4 separate regions of the Homo sapiens genome follow, and regions 1, 2 and 4 are each linked to region 3. The links are contacts of gene promoters, found by promoter capture Hi-C in blood cells and fetal thymus (Javierre and others, 2016). All regions are on one chromosome and are shown on one strand. Each heading gives the region's core, a stretch centred on a gene start or on the middle of the fragment in contact. The rest is flanking DNA. Distances are from core to core; before and after follow the strand shown.

Region 1 (3,342 bases), core at 414-2,913, 240 kb after region 3:
CGGAGAACAGTCAAAAGGCTATAAAAATAGTACCAACCTGGTTTTTAACCAAGGGAACCAGATCTTCAGGGATGTCACCAAGGGGATAGGCACGACCTGCTAGACAACAGCTAGAAGAAAAGAATGAGAATGGATATGGTGACTTGTAAAGGGGATAACTTTCAAGCGAGTAACACATTGTTTCTCAAACTTGAGATACTAGTTCAATTTGTAAGTAGGCTCAGCTTTTGTCAGTTAGGTCAAGTTCCAAAGCAGGTCAAGATGACACCCAGTTTAGAAAATGTGGGCAACAGATATGGAGGTGAGGTAATGCATCCTGTGACTGAGTGGGAGCTTTCGTTTCTTCGTATGTTTCCTAAGAAAAACCAATGCTCTATTAAAGGGGCAAGAAGGAATGAGGACAGACTTCTAAAGGCCTCATACCCAGCGTCTAGAAAGATGGTGCCTAATGGCACCATTATACTATGATTAATCTGTTAAAAGCCTGGCGTTCTCAGATACTGTTAAACCAGGGTCTCTAAGAATGGTATTAAAGATGGGGAAAGAGGCTAAATGTCTGGGAAGTCTGCGACAGGACAAACCGGGGAGAATTAGAATCTGAAGAGAAATTCACCCTACAGTTTTACCTCCAAATCAAACCTTCTTCATGGCTAAAGACTTGCCTTGTGAGCTGAATTACTACAAATGTCATCTGAACATGTCTACCTTTTTTCTATTTTTTGGCGGGGAGGGAGCAAATTTTAAAGCTTTTTAAACTACAATTTTCAATGTTAGACTGGAGACAACTGGACACCAGCATATCCTGAAGAGTTTAAGGTACAGATGATAAAGCACTAAGTAAATGCGTATTTCTTTCACACTAAAGAATCAATGTAACAAGTGTGAAACAGGTTTCAAAGTTAACTCTGACATTAGATATGAGCTCAAATGATGTTCTGCTAGGTTCTGCCACCTTCCTGACAAATAGTCATCTACCGAAAAGTTCTATCAGGGCTCAATTCTGAGCTGGCATAGTCTACTAGAATGAACCCTGCTCCAGGAGTCAGGAGATAAACATTCTAGTTTTACCTCTGTTACTAACTTTTTCATGATTTGAACAAGTCTCTTGCCCTCATATGTAGAAACAATACACATCCCACATAGGTGTCACTAGTAAACATAAAAAACCCGGGTTTCAACACCAAGGTTTCTCAACCTCAGCCCTACTGATACTTCGGGCCAGATAATTCTTTGTTGTGCTATTCTGTGCATTGTATGATGCTTAGCAGCATCCTTGGCCTCTGCCCACTAGATACCAGTAGCATCCCTTCTCTAGCCCCAGTTATAACAACCAAAAATGTCTCTAGATGTTGCCAAACATCTCCAGGGAGTAGGAGACAAAATTATCCATGGTTGAGAACCACTGCTCTACATAAAAGAATTGTGCAAAATTAAAAGTACTATATAGATAAGAGATCATAGTATCTCTAAAAATATAGGAAAAATATAGAAAGAACATACATGCAGATGAATAAATAAAACAATCTTACCTAATATATACAAGGAGCTTATTGCCCATAACAACTTGTTCATCTAAAATAGAAAGAGAAGTATCTTCAGCAATTTTCTCTCAAAACCTTTTCAGAAAAATAATCTTTATGTAGAAACAAAAAAATAAAACTTGGCATTTAAGGTGAGGTAAGTATATTCCCAAATAACAGGAAGTTAAGACCACTTTATTGGCTTTTGAGTTTCCATTAGATTCTTGTCACAGACACAAGAGCAATATAAGCTACCCTAAGATAGATGTAGAAGGAATAGATCTGAGGGTAGAGATCTATGTACTGTTGGCCTAACTAACTTGGGGCCAAGGGAAGGTGTAGGGCAGGCAATGAGCTGATGAACTGTACATCAGAACCAATTAATTAGTGTTAAGGCATAACCATACTGTCTTCTTATTTGTAATATGGACTTTTACCACCTACCGTGCTCTAGGGCTGAAAAGGCCATTGTTCCCAAATGTTTAAAGTAACAGAACTAAACTAAATGATCTTTAGGGCCCTTTCTATTCTAAGTTACATAAAAAATGTAAGATTCTGCCATCTTGTGATACGAGCCTGTTCTCTGACTAAAGAAATCAGAAAGATAATATGACAAAGTTTGAAGCCAAGGGGTCAAGGGCAATACAGAATGGAGCAGGAGCATCAACAGGGTGAAGTGACTGGGAACGCCCACAGCGCACAGATGATGGGAATCTGTGGTTGGCAATAATGAAGAGCTGGAGTTTCTATTTTTGGTAATATGAATACTGGACATAATGCAAGCAAGTGTATGCCTTTATCAGTAATCTTTCACAAATACTCAAAATCTGTGATGTTGTTAGTGCATGTAAACATGAATTGCTCCAAATGTATGAATAACTACATTTTGCTTCCATTCCAAATGTCATTTGATTCACATCAACTCGTATGACACATGGTGATCACCACCTGCATGGCATAACAACTTAATGTTTATTGGCTAACTAGATAAACACGAGTGAAAGAAAAATAAAGTCTCAGAATCCCAAACTCACTATGCCAAAAGGAAAAGTTAAGCTTCGGAATTGAGTCATGTAAAAAACAAAAACAAAAACAAACAAACGAAAATCCTGGCTACCTTTGGTTCCTAAACAGATTGCTGCAAGATAGAAGGCCATGTCTCCCCAGCTGGCCTCCCTCACCCTGACAATGTAAATTAATAGCTGATCTTCACAGGCACTGGACAAAGATAAGACTATAAATTATTCCTCAGCCCATCCCAAGACAAATGCATATTTGACTTCTTCCTCTATTCTATGTTTACTTTACTGTTGTACCTGAGCGAGTTAGAAAAACGCCACACTTTGAGACGAATTAAGAGTCTTTTATTCAGCCGGCAGCCAAAGAGAAGGCTAACGCTCAAAATTCTCTCGGCCCCGAGGAAGGGGCTTAACTTTTATACTTTGGTTTAGAAAGGGGAGGGGAGCTTAAATGCAACAACTCTTCAGAAGTAAAAACATGCAAAAAAATTAAAAGGACGAATGGTTACAGGGAAACAAACAATTTAAAAGACAAATGGTTACAAAAAAAGCAAGGTACCAGGTGCGGGGCTCTAAATCCTTCATAAGAGTTAGATATGGGCACTACGCCGGACACAAACTGAAGGCTTTATGGTGTTATCTTTTGAGCAAAATGCTGGGAACTTCATACATGGTTTGTTCCAGTACCTTATCAGTTAACTGGACTCCTTTGATATGTTGACAATCTGCTTACACAGGTTAACTCCTTGAGGAAAGAGGGGTGGGTAAGGAGTCCTTAATGTCTTGTAAATCAAGGGGGCCAG
Region 2 (3,483 bases), core at 43-2,542, 220 kb after region 3:
AGAAGTCATGATGTAATAGATTGCATGTGACACAGACTTTATGAATACAAATATGAGGTAGAATAATTACACGAAAAAGATTTCAACCCTAAATTAAATCAACTTAATATGATACATGCCATTGCTTCGTTGGCATAAAGTTAACTTGGGTTAGATGATCGTTCAGATGGTGAAGTGTGAAGTTTTGCGCATCAGTACCTCAATATGATCCATTGCTTTCTGCCATACAGACTGCTTCTCCTCTGCACTGTGTCCGGGAATGGATAAGATATTGTGAATGTAATTAAAGACTTCTTCCTGAAGAGCACAAGACAATATAATTTATTCATTCACTCACTCAAGATTTAGTCCCTACCAACTGAACCAGTCTTGGTAAACATCTATTATCTGAAGATGAAAAATTATCTGGAGATAGTTAACTGATGGAAAACTCTGTCCCTAAAAATAAAGAGTAATTGTTTAAAATTTAGGGTAGACTCTTAGAAGCAAAAAATCAGTTCTAATTAATTTTGGTTTGAATTTATTAATCTTCAGTGACCTAATGAAGGAGTATCACACTTTGGCTTTTGGGGATCCCATTGTCCACATTCCCAATTTCAGCAGAAACCACTCCTGCCCTTGTCTATTATGCTCCACCTATACTGATTTTCACTTCATCTATATGATCTCTACTCAGCTCCTTGAACATGTCAATTTTCCCCACCTCAGGTCTCTTGCATATACAGTTACCCATCCTGGAACACTCTTCTTGGCTCTTTCCTTCACTGGCTTCTCAAATTCCAAAACTCAGTTTATATGTCACTTTCTCTGAAATTCCTTCCCTGGCTACTCTGTGTAAGTCAGTTCCCCATCATCCTCTAAAGTAGCACTCGGTTTCTCTTCCCTAGCATTTATCCCAATTTGTAATCATATTTGACTTTGTTTACTGTCAGTTTCCATCACTAAATTATACATTCCAAAACTGCAAGAACTGTATCTGTTTTAATTATCAATGTGTATTTGGCTCATACACATGCGCAAATATTTCTACTCAACAGTTATTTGTACTCAATAAGAGGGAAAGTTGAGTAAGAAAAAAGAGTAAAGCAGTATCTTGACTCACCTCTCGCAGAGGGTCACGTAAGTAGCAATCAATAATTTTATCATATTGGTGTTCTCTTTCATACATAAATTCACAAATTTGATAGCTAGAATGTAAAGGGAAAAACTTCAGTGTACCAAACAGGGAGGTTTTTGAGACATTTGCTCTGGCACACAGGTTAGTATTAGGAAAAGTGGGCCAGGTGTCCTGGCTCATGCTTATAATCCAAGCACTTTGGGAGGCTGAGGCAAGAGGACTGCTTGAGACCAGGAGTTTGAGATCAGCCTGGGCAGCATAGCAAGACCCCGTCTCTACAAAAAAACTAAAAGCCAGGTATGGTGGCATGTGCCTGTCATCTGAGCTACTACGGAAGCTGAGGCAGGAGGATTGCTTGAGACCAGGAGGTTAAGGCTACAGTGAGCTATGATCGCACCACTGCACTCCAGCCTGGTCAACAGAGGGAGACTTTGTCTCAAAAGAAAAAAAAGAAAAATTAATATAGTAGATGTGATTTCTATTGTTAAATAAAGTTACAGTGAATAACTAAGGGAGATGAGTATTTGCCGTTAACCTTTAACTATAGGTTCAAGAGGCTGCTAAATATTATGTTTATAAAAAATTTCAATGCTGAATACAAAGGAAATACTAAAACAATAGTGTATCACATAAGAAATAGTGAATATGTTAGATATTAATTGATAATTTACAAAAATTTTACATAAAGTTCCTCTGTTCAGAATTACATGTCATATAAATACAGCATACTAGGTAAGTAGCAATGTGATCATATCATCTTATTTACTACGTCAAATACTGCATTGTCTCTAATATATCTAAGATAACCATCAACAATTTATGAAACATGGAAATATTAAAGAAAAAATCTAAAATAATAAAACATCATAAGACTATTTCACTTTATGTTTAAACAATTATATAAAAGTTTCATATCTGCCCTATCAATTTCTGCAAATTTTACTAATTTCTAGAATTCAATTAAAAGGGAAAAATTTTCACCCTTAGCTTTTTGTTATTTGTATAATCTTTCCTAATTAAAAAAGCAGCAATGTATCAATAAACTGAGCTTTAAGTTAAAGAAATATAATTTAATATTTCTATGGCAAACTAATATACAGCCTCAAAACAACTTACAACTCAGCTTTTTCTGCCATCCGGATGAGTCGACTCTCTTCAAATTGAACTATGCCTCCAGCCTGCAGCAATTCTAAAAGGACCTGAGTATTTACAATAAATGAGTAAAAACACTTGAGAATTTACTAGCTCTTTAAGAGTGCATTCAGCCATGCAGACTATAACATTTAATTTTTTTCTTTTGTATTCTTAGTTGATGATATTTTGGCTTGCTGTCACATATGGAAGGGGTTAGACTGACATTATAAACTTGATCATACTGCATTTAAGCCCTATAAAAAGATAAATGGCTCTGCTTTCCAAACATGGAAAGAACGCCACAGTGTTTACAAATAAAGCCCTATTAGACATTGAGCTGACTCTCTGCTAAGCTAAAATGTCCATATATATCTTTCAAGAAGTGAATTTTTATCTCACTTTTATGTCTTACGGTTCTTTACAATCTGTCTATCCACAGCTGGTATCCATGTTTACATGTTAATTTTTTAAAAATTAAGTATTGGGGCTTTTCATAGCAGCACTATTCAAAATAGCCAAAGGGTGGAAACAATCCAAATGGCCCTCAGTGGATGAATGAATAAACAAAATGTAGTATATGCATACAACGGAATACTGTTCAGTAGGAAGAAAACCTGATACATGCATGCTGCGGCATGGATGAACCTTGAACACATTCTGCCAAGTGAAATAAGCTAAATACAAAAGAACGAGTATTGTGACTGCACTTACGTGAGGGACCTAAGGTAGTAAAATTCATAGAGACTGGTAGTTACTAAGGGCTGGGGAGGAGAAAACAGGGAGTGGGAGTTATGATTTAATTGGTATGGTAGTTCAGTTTGGGAAGATAAAAGAGTTCTGGGGATGGATGGTGATGAGGATTGTACAATGTGAATACCACTGATGTATACACTTAAAAATGGTTAAAATGGTAAATTATGTGTTACGTCTATTTTACCACAATAAAAAGCAAACAAAAATATTGGAGCTCATAGAATTAATTTTTACAACACTAAGCAGCTGAAATGAGGGGGCCCATATACTATTTGTATTCAATATAATTTAAGAGATAACCAAAATTTTACCAGCTGTTCTTTTACCTAGGATACTCTGCAGCAGTCACTGGGCCATAGCTGTGCGGATAAAGGGGTCACTGTTGCTATCCGATAGTCTCAACTTCCCAGCTGCGTATGATTACCACAGTGCCATAAAGCCATACTTCAGCACAGCTCTCATGGTACTTAATTTTAGTA
Region 3 (3,558 bases), core at 132-2,631:
AAATGGTTTGTTTCCTCTTCAGTGAATCCAGCCTGGGGTCGGTTCTCAGCAGCAGAGCCTGGCATGGAAAATCTATTTGGAGCAACTTGTCCCCAGGAGGGAAGAGTGCGAGCCAACTGTGTGGGGAAGCCGCAGCCACCACAGGGTCAGTCACACCTGCTGGCCAGAGCAGGCGCTAACACAGAAAGGCAGAGTCCTCCGCATACATGAGTCCTGTTTGTGTGCCCACCCACTCCTATGTACCACACACACCCGATTTGATCCGTATATGCCATGTGCACACTCGACATGCCAGATACACGCACTGCACTGCCACACATATACCATACACACACCACTCTGTATTACTAAGCATACCCACCCCCACAACACGTGCACAAGCACATGCACGTCCAACTACACACATATACATATTCTGCACGCCACACACACTCAACCACACACACACCACCCACACTCCACCTCAGTTATAACATTCATTTCACATACACACGTATACACACACCTCACCAGTCACTTGCATCACGCATACCACCCACCATGTACCATGAACACACCTAACCACACACAACCACACACGCATACCCACCATACATACTCCAAATAATCATACACACGCACGCAACACACACATCCCATGCACACCAAACTACACATACGCAGACACACACACACATCAATGCACCCAGCTTTGTTGCTTTCCCGCTCAACGGAGGCGGGGGTGGGAGGAGAAGGGGGAGGGGCTGCGGTCCCGGCGAAGGTTGGGGCGGGCGCGGGAAGGCCCGGGCGCACTGGCCTGGGGTTTGGGGCGAGGCGGGCAGGGGTTGGCGGTGCTGGCCCCTGACGCGCCCTGTGGCCGCGCTGGGGCAGGAGGCCCGCCCTGGGTGGGGGGAGTGCGCGCGTGTGCACGAGCGTGTGCGCGCCTCCCAGGGGCTCCATGCCCAGACACGGGGAGGTGTGTACGAGGGAGATGTGAGACGCCTGTGGGGACAGGCTGTGTGTGTGAGATCCTCGCTACGCGATGCACCCGGCCCGGGCCACTAGGAGGTTCGGGTGGGCGTGGGCCAGGTGTGCGCAGCCCTCCGTGGAGCGTGTGGACGCGTGTGTCAGTTCTCGGTGGCCAGTGTCACTCGGGGGGAAGTGCATATGTAGGCTGGCGTGCATGTGAGTACAAAGCGGCCGAGGAGTGTGTGTTCACCACGGCCCTCCGTCGGGGTCTTTCTCCGAGGAAGGAGTGAGTATGTGAGGAGGACCTCGCTGTGACCGGCGGGGACGCCGACGGCCAAGCTCCCCAGCGGCGTGTGTGTGAGAAGGCCGGGCTCGCTGAGGAACGTCGCGCGGGGCCGACCGGCGCGCGCCTGTGCGCGTGCGTGTGCGCGTGGGGCGCGGCGCGCGCCGCGCCGGAGGGAGGGAGGCTGCCAGCCCGGACCCGGTCGCAGCGCCCGGGGCGGCTCCTCCTCGAGCCTGGGACCGCCGCGCTCCCGCCGCCGCCGCGTGCTGGCGTGACTCCCGGCCCGTGCCGCGCCCTCCCGCGTCCGCAGCCGGCTCGGCTTCCTGCCCACCCAGACGTCGCTTCTCCCGGGCTCCCGGTGTCGGCTCCGCGCGGAGGGAGAGGAAATGAGTGCGGCGGCCTCGCCGGCGTCGGAGCGGGGTTGGAAGAGCGAGAAACTAGATGAGGCTCAGGCCCTGGCGCGGAGTTGCGCCGCCCGCAGACCCGACTTCCAGCCGTGCGACGGGCTGTCTATCTGTGCCACGCACAGCCATGGCAAGTGCTTCAAGCTGCACTGGTGCTGTCACCTAGGATGGTGTCACTGTAAGTCGAGCCGCGTCTTCCCGCCTTCCGCCGCGGTCCGGGGGACGCCCGCCGGGCCGTCCGGGGTCGCTGCCGGAACTCTGCGGCCGCGGGGCTCCGGGCTCTGCCGGGGCTGCTCTGCCGGAGGCTGGGGCCGCCGTGGGCTCCGGGCCCGCCGGAGCTTTCCTTGCGCCGGACGGCTGGGGTTGGCGCTGCCTTGACGACGAGATGAAATCCCGTGGGGCGCCTCGCTTTCTTTAGCTACTTCTACAAAAGGGAGCTCCCTGTCCCAGGGAAGCGGGAATCTGGTTTTTTTTCTTTTCTTTTTCTTTTTTTGACCAAGGCGTCCAGGCGGTGTTTTGAGAAATGGGAGCGAGCCAGCTGAGTTGGCGACAGCTGTTGGGGATGCCTTTTTTCAAGGTTGCTGGTTAAAGATGCTCCTCTTTTTCTTTCTCACTTTTGTCTTCCTGGGCTGCTATTTAAAAGAAGGAGCCCTTGGATATCCAATTGTTTCCCCCTTGATTGTACCCAAATTGAGAAAAAGCGCTAATGTGGGAGGGATTGCTTCCAAGAAGTTAATATTAACAGTTTGGAAGGTCGAGCTCCTTAAATACCCAGATGTAGAATTTAGAGCCAAATAAATGAGACTTATAAAATTACAAAATAAAATGAGTGAAAGTAAGCTTAATAGTCTTAAACCAATTTATAAAAGCTAGAACCAAATGGTCTAAACCCTTTCTCTGTGTTTAGCCTCCTGCCTGTGATTTTTAAATAGATTAAACTTAAGTAGCCATTTAATTAGAATTTCACAATTTGATTAGCTAATAGTATTTGGACTATATCCGATGAATCATTCATTTTAAGAAATATATTCTAAAGTTAGTTTCCACATATATTTGTAATAGAGGGTTTTGGAGTGCTTATTTAGGACATTTTCCAAGTGATCTTAAGTTAAAATGAATTTTTCTTTGTTGAGAAAAAAATAGCTGACAACCAGGAATGCAGTACATAACAAATCCTTATTTACATTAATCGAACATAAATGAATATTTTAAATCGAATTTATGAATTCAAGGATAGAGGATCATTTTCTTTACAAATTCCAGGCACATAGAACAGTATTGATTTCTGGTGTTCCATTTGCTTATGGGCCAGTTTCTTCCTATTTCTCATTATTCCTGTTGTGCTCAGATCTGTTCTCTTTTGTTAGTATAAAGCATTGCTTCACGGTGGGACAGGGTACCGAGTTGGAAGTAGCAACTCTAGGAAACCTGGGATGCTGAAGTGCACAAGTAGAATCTGGACTTTCATTCATTTCGTGGGAAAGTATAGAATCGTTGTGTAAAATGTGAGGAATGTTCAAGATAGTCCAGGTTACTGTCTGTCTTATTTTGACAGTGTCTTCTCTAAGTACACCGTTACTGATGGGAACCTTGCAGTTTTCTCAGACAGCTTCTCCCTTCATTAGCCTTGACTCTTAAAATACTCTTCCTTATATGGAGCTGAAATCAGTTACTTTCTAACTTCTTTCTTCTGCTCCTATTTCTGCCTTATGAAATCATATAGAACAATTGAATCCTTTTTTAGATCATGGCTGTTTCAACTCTTCATATATACATTGCTGAATATACATATGAATGTCTTGCACATATGGACTGTCTTCTCTCTGTATCCCTGGCCATTCTCACAATGTCTTTCCTGAAATAGGTTTAACAATAATGTTCATTGAATGACTGAATGAAGCTAGTGATCATCTTTCTCTTAAG
Region 4 (3,400 bases), core at 15-2,514, 200 kb after region 3:
AACACCTCATTCAAACGGCAATCCAGGAAAATCTGTCCGATTGCCATTTCCTACTTCCACCCCAACTATAGATACTTTAAACACAAATCTTGAAATATTCTCAGCTGGCTCCCCTCCAGACTGAGAGACAAGCTTAGAGACTGCTCCAAACATTAACTTTTGTTTCCTTTTTGTTTCTATAGAAATGTCTTTTATTAAATGCCTATGTGCCTATACCTTTGTCGGAAACACACTTACAACACCACCACCTCCTAAAATGAGATGCAACTATTTAACTAAACTGACCCATTTTCACAACCAAGAGATTGTTTCAATAAGGGACAATGTACCCGAATTTGTTCCTTTCCACTTGTTCCAATCTATGATTTTCTCCCCTCTGCCAATCTATTACGTCAAAACCACTAACCCAAATCTCTCCACAGTTACCCACCCGGCGTTTAATATGTGAAACTTTCTAAAAGTAAAGTTTCAAAGGGGGCACTGAACAAAACCAAAATATGTTTCCCCCAAATATTGAGGATTGTTAAGTTAAAGACAATGAAAATGCAGGGGAATCCTCTGCTCCCGCCTCTATCTGCCTGATAGCAGGACATACATTCTTTACTGGAGATAGCACTTGCTTATTGGCCCGGAGAAGGCACCAGCAGGCACGGGAGGAATCTGGGAACACAGCTGACTATCTTCCCATACATGTTTCCACCTTTTACTAGGCTGGAACTGCTCTCTCCTGTCTTGTCACTATGTAAGATTTAAGGCTCTTTGTTAAAATACAGTTTAAGCAAAGCCCCTAAGCCACTGCCTTGAGAAAGATACTTTTGAACTGAGGTCTCTCCTACATGATGGGTATAGCACATATCAATAAACCTCTGTTTTTCTTTTGTTAATCTGACTTTTGTTTTCAGGAGTATGTCTCAACTAAGAATTTATAAGGTTTAAAAAAGAAATTATATATTTTTTCCCCTTGTCTTTGATCATCTGTCAAATGGAGAATGTTAAGAAGAGTTTACTCTTGTCTCTTTTACATTGTTCGTCTCACCTGAATAGTTTCTTCCAGACGGTAGCACTCAAGGACTTGCAGAGTCTCTATAACTTGGGTTGGGTTGAACTGACACAACAGCTCAATGAACTGCTCTGTGATACAAGGAGATATTTGCAGTAATTCTTGATTTACATGAATACCTTCCCTAAAAACATAAAAGATAAAGAGAACACTCAATTGTAGCATTATTTAATCACATCTATAATTAAAAGCTACCAGTAAAAAGCACATTACATTAAAACTAGGACTACCTGCTGGTCAGATAAAAATATGAATTGAAAGTCTCAATGTTATTTAGGTTACTTGAGCAAACTGTACATTACATAAGAGGCATTGTAAGTTGTAATATTACTCAGGTTATGTTGAATAATTAAGGAAGTAACATTCAGTTGAAACTCTTCTAAATCATACCAAAAGTTGTGTTTTATTCTAAAAGAAACAAGAGCCACCCAATTTAGTCCTAATACTTTGATCTCTAAGTAACTATATATAACCATCTTCCAATCTCAGTAAGTGTTTCTTCTTTATATTCTTCATAGCACCAATCATATCACATTGCAATGACTTCTTTAATTATCTATCTTCTCTAAAACACTATAAATTCTGTGAGGGGTAGGTACCAGGTATCTTCTCAGTAGTAAATTTTTGAAGCTAACCAATGTCTTGCACATAGTGAGGACTAATTTTTTTGGTTATTGTTATAATAAATAAAGGAGTAATACTAAAATACACAATATTTATGGGTTCATTTGCCTAGTACACCAGCTACTCACATAGCCCGCTATTCACAATGCCTACACAAAAGTTTTGGAAGTAGAGTATTAACTGCATCATACTGGCCACTCAAGCACTCAACTACTGATGGCCGAAAGTAGCTGCTTAGGAAATCAACTGTTCATTGGAGACCTAAGAATCATCCTCTCTCTAGCTTCAAAAGAACTTAGTTCCTTCTGAGAGTCCTATCTTCTCTTCGGAATTCCTCAACTAAAGCTCATTATTATATAAATAACTGGAATACGGTTAATAAGATACAACAATGATTGCTTGGAAAACTAGCCCAGTTCTGAAGAAAGGTTAAAGCACATGGTCTAAAGAAGTAGTTTCCAGGTTTTCTCATATTGTGGCACACAGAAAATAAGATATTTGTTTGGTCCACTGTAGTGAAGTAAGATTGCTCACAAGGGACTCTGGTTGTCCCAAGAGCTGAGACAGTCTGCAGGCACACTTGTAACCATGTACAGTACATCAATAGCCACAGGGTGGGACTCTCTGGACTCCAGAAAGAACAATTTGGATTTTGTGATTATTCATAAGTGATGGTAAGTAGTGCTTCTACTTTTACTAATAAGAAGCTTGGGTCAAAGAAAAAGAGACTGTATTTAGACACAGGGCATTTTCCCTAATTTAAGAGCTTTGTGATACCAGAGGTGGGTAAACGATAAACTAAAAAAATTCTGCTGCTTGGAACTTTCAATACTTGCTGATGGGCTAATTCAGTATCTCCTCAAATTGGCTATAAATTCCAAAGAAAGAGTGTTCTTTTTTTTTTTTGTATCTTATAACTGCCTTTAATACAGAAGTTTGTTCAGTGACTGGCCATTCCCTATGTATACCACCACCTTAGTTCTCACCCACAACTTGAAAATCATGTTTAAGTATGTGTGTCCCCAACCACATTGTAAAGTCCATGGTATTGCATTCATAATTGTTTACCCATCATTAAGACATAATAAATAGTGCTCAGTAATCTGATGTAAATATATATTGAACTGAACTGAAATGAATGTAGACAGTACATTGGACTGCCTTCAAACAGAGGAAAACGTGTAGGGTCCAGTCCTACGGGGCTTAGCAGGTGTTCTCCCTGTGTGCAGAGACAAGAGATTGTAATAAATAAAGACACAAGACAAAGAGATAAAGAGACAATAGCTGGGCCCGGGGAACCACTACCACCAAGACGCGGAGACCAGCAGTGGCCTCAAACGACTGGGCGTGCTGATATTTATTGCATACAAGACGAGGGGGCGCAGGGTAAGGAGGATGAATCTTCTAAGTGATAAGGTGAAGCAAGTCACATGATCATGGGACAGGGGGCCCTTCCCTTTTAGGTAGCCACCGCAGAGATAGAGAAGGCAGCATATGTCAGCGTTTTCTTCTATGCACTTATAAGAAAGATCAAATACTTTAAGACTTTCACTATTTCTTCTACTGCTATCTACTACGAACTTCAAAGAGGAACCAGGAGTACGGGAGGAACATGAAAGTGGACAAGGAGAGTGACCACTGAAGCACAGCACCACAGGGAGGGGTTTAGGCCTCCAGATGACTGCGGGCAGGCCTAGATAATATCCAGCCTTCCAC

What was found. Contacts are between HindIII fragments. The CHiCAGO score rates a contact against its expected background, and 5 or more counts as called.
Region 1: a contact is called between a fragment that was not itself captured here and the fragment with the promoter of C3orf70 in region 3, in 2 of 17 cell types (endothelial precursors and erythroblasts). The highest score is 8.8, in endothelial precursors.
Region 2: a contact is called between a fragment that was not itself captured here and the fragment with the promoter of C3orf70 in region 3, in 1 of 17 cell types (endothelial precursors). The highest score is 6.6, in endothelial precursors.
Region 4: a contact is called between a fragment that was not itself captured here and the fragment with the promoter of C3orf70 in region 3, in 1 of 17 cell types (endothelial precursors). The highest score is 5.8, in endothelial precursors.

The regions. Positions count from the first base shown.
Region 1 is chr3:184,911,749-184,915,090 of GRCh38, reverse strand. VPS8 (VPS8 subunit of CORVET complex) reads right to left here. Exons shown (of 48, transcript NM_001009921.3): 26 at 1,530-1,572; 27 at 38-110. Among named protein-coding and RNA genes, the nearest start is that of VPS8, 100 kb to the right of the region's middle. RefSeq lists an enhancer at 2,484-3,047. The HindIII fragment of the contact is 1,830 bases long and covers 749-2,578 here.
Region 2 is chr3:184,927,284-184,930,766 of GRCh38, reverse strand. VPS8 (VPS8 subunit of CORVET complex) reads right to left here. Exons shown (of 48, transcript NM_001009921.3): 32 at 2,234-2,316; 33 at 1,103-1,187; 34 at 199-297. Among named protein-coding and RNA genes, the nearest start is that of VPS8, 120 kb to the right of the region's middle. The HindIII fragment of the contact is 5,283 bases long and covers 1-3,483 here.
Region 3 is chr3:185,150,883-185,154,440 of GRCh38, reverse strand. It overlaps C3orf70 (chromosome 3 open reading frame 70), which reads left to right and starts at 1,381. Exons shown (of 2, transcript NM_001025266.3): 1 at 1,381-1,813. The coding sequence starts at 1,618. RefSeq lists an enhancer at 1,196-1,335 and a silencer at 1,756-1,975. The HindIII fragment of the contact is 2,735 bases long and covers 1-2,477 here.
Region 4 is chr3:184,955,158-184,958,557 of GRCh38, reverse strand. It overlaps VPS8 (VPS8 subunit of CORVET complex), which reads right to left. Exons shown (of 48, transcript NM_001009921.3): 37 at 1,037-1,184. Among named protein-coding and RNA genes, the nearest start is that of VPS8, 140 kb to the right of the region's middle. The HindIII fragment of the contact is 2,259 bases long and covers 135-2,393 here.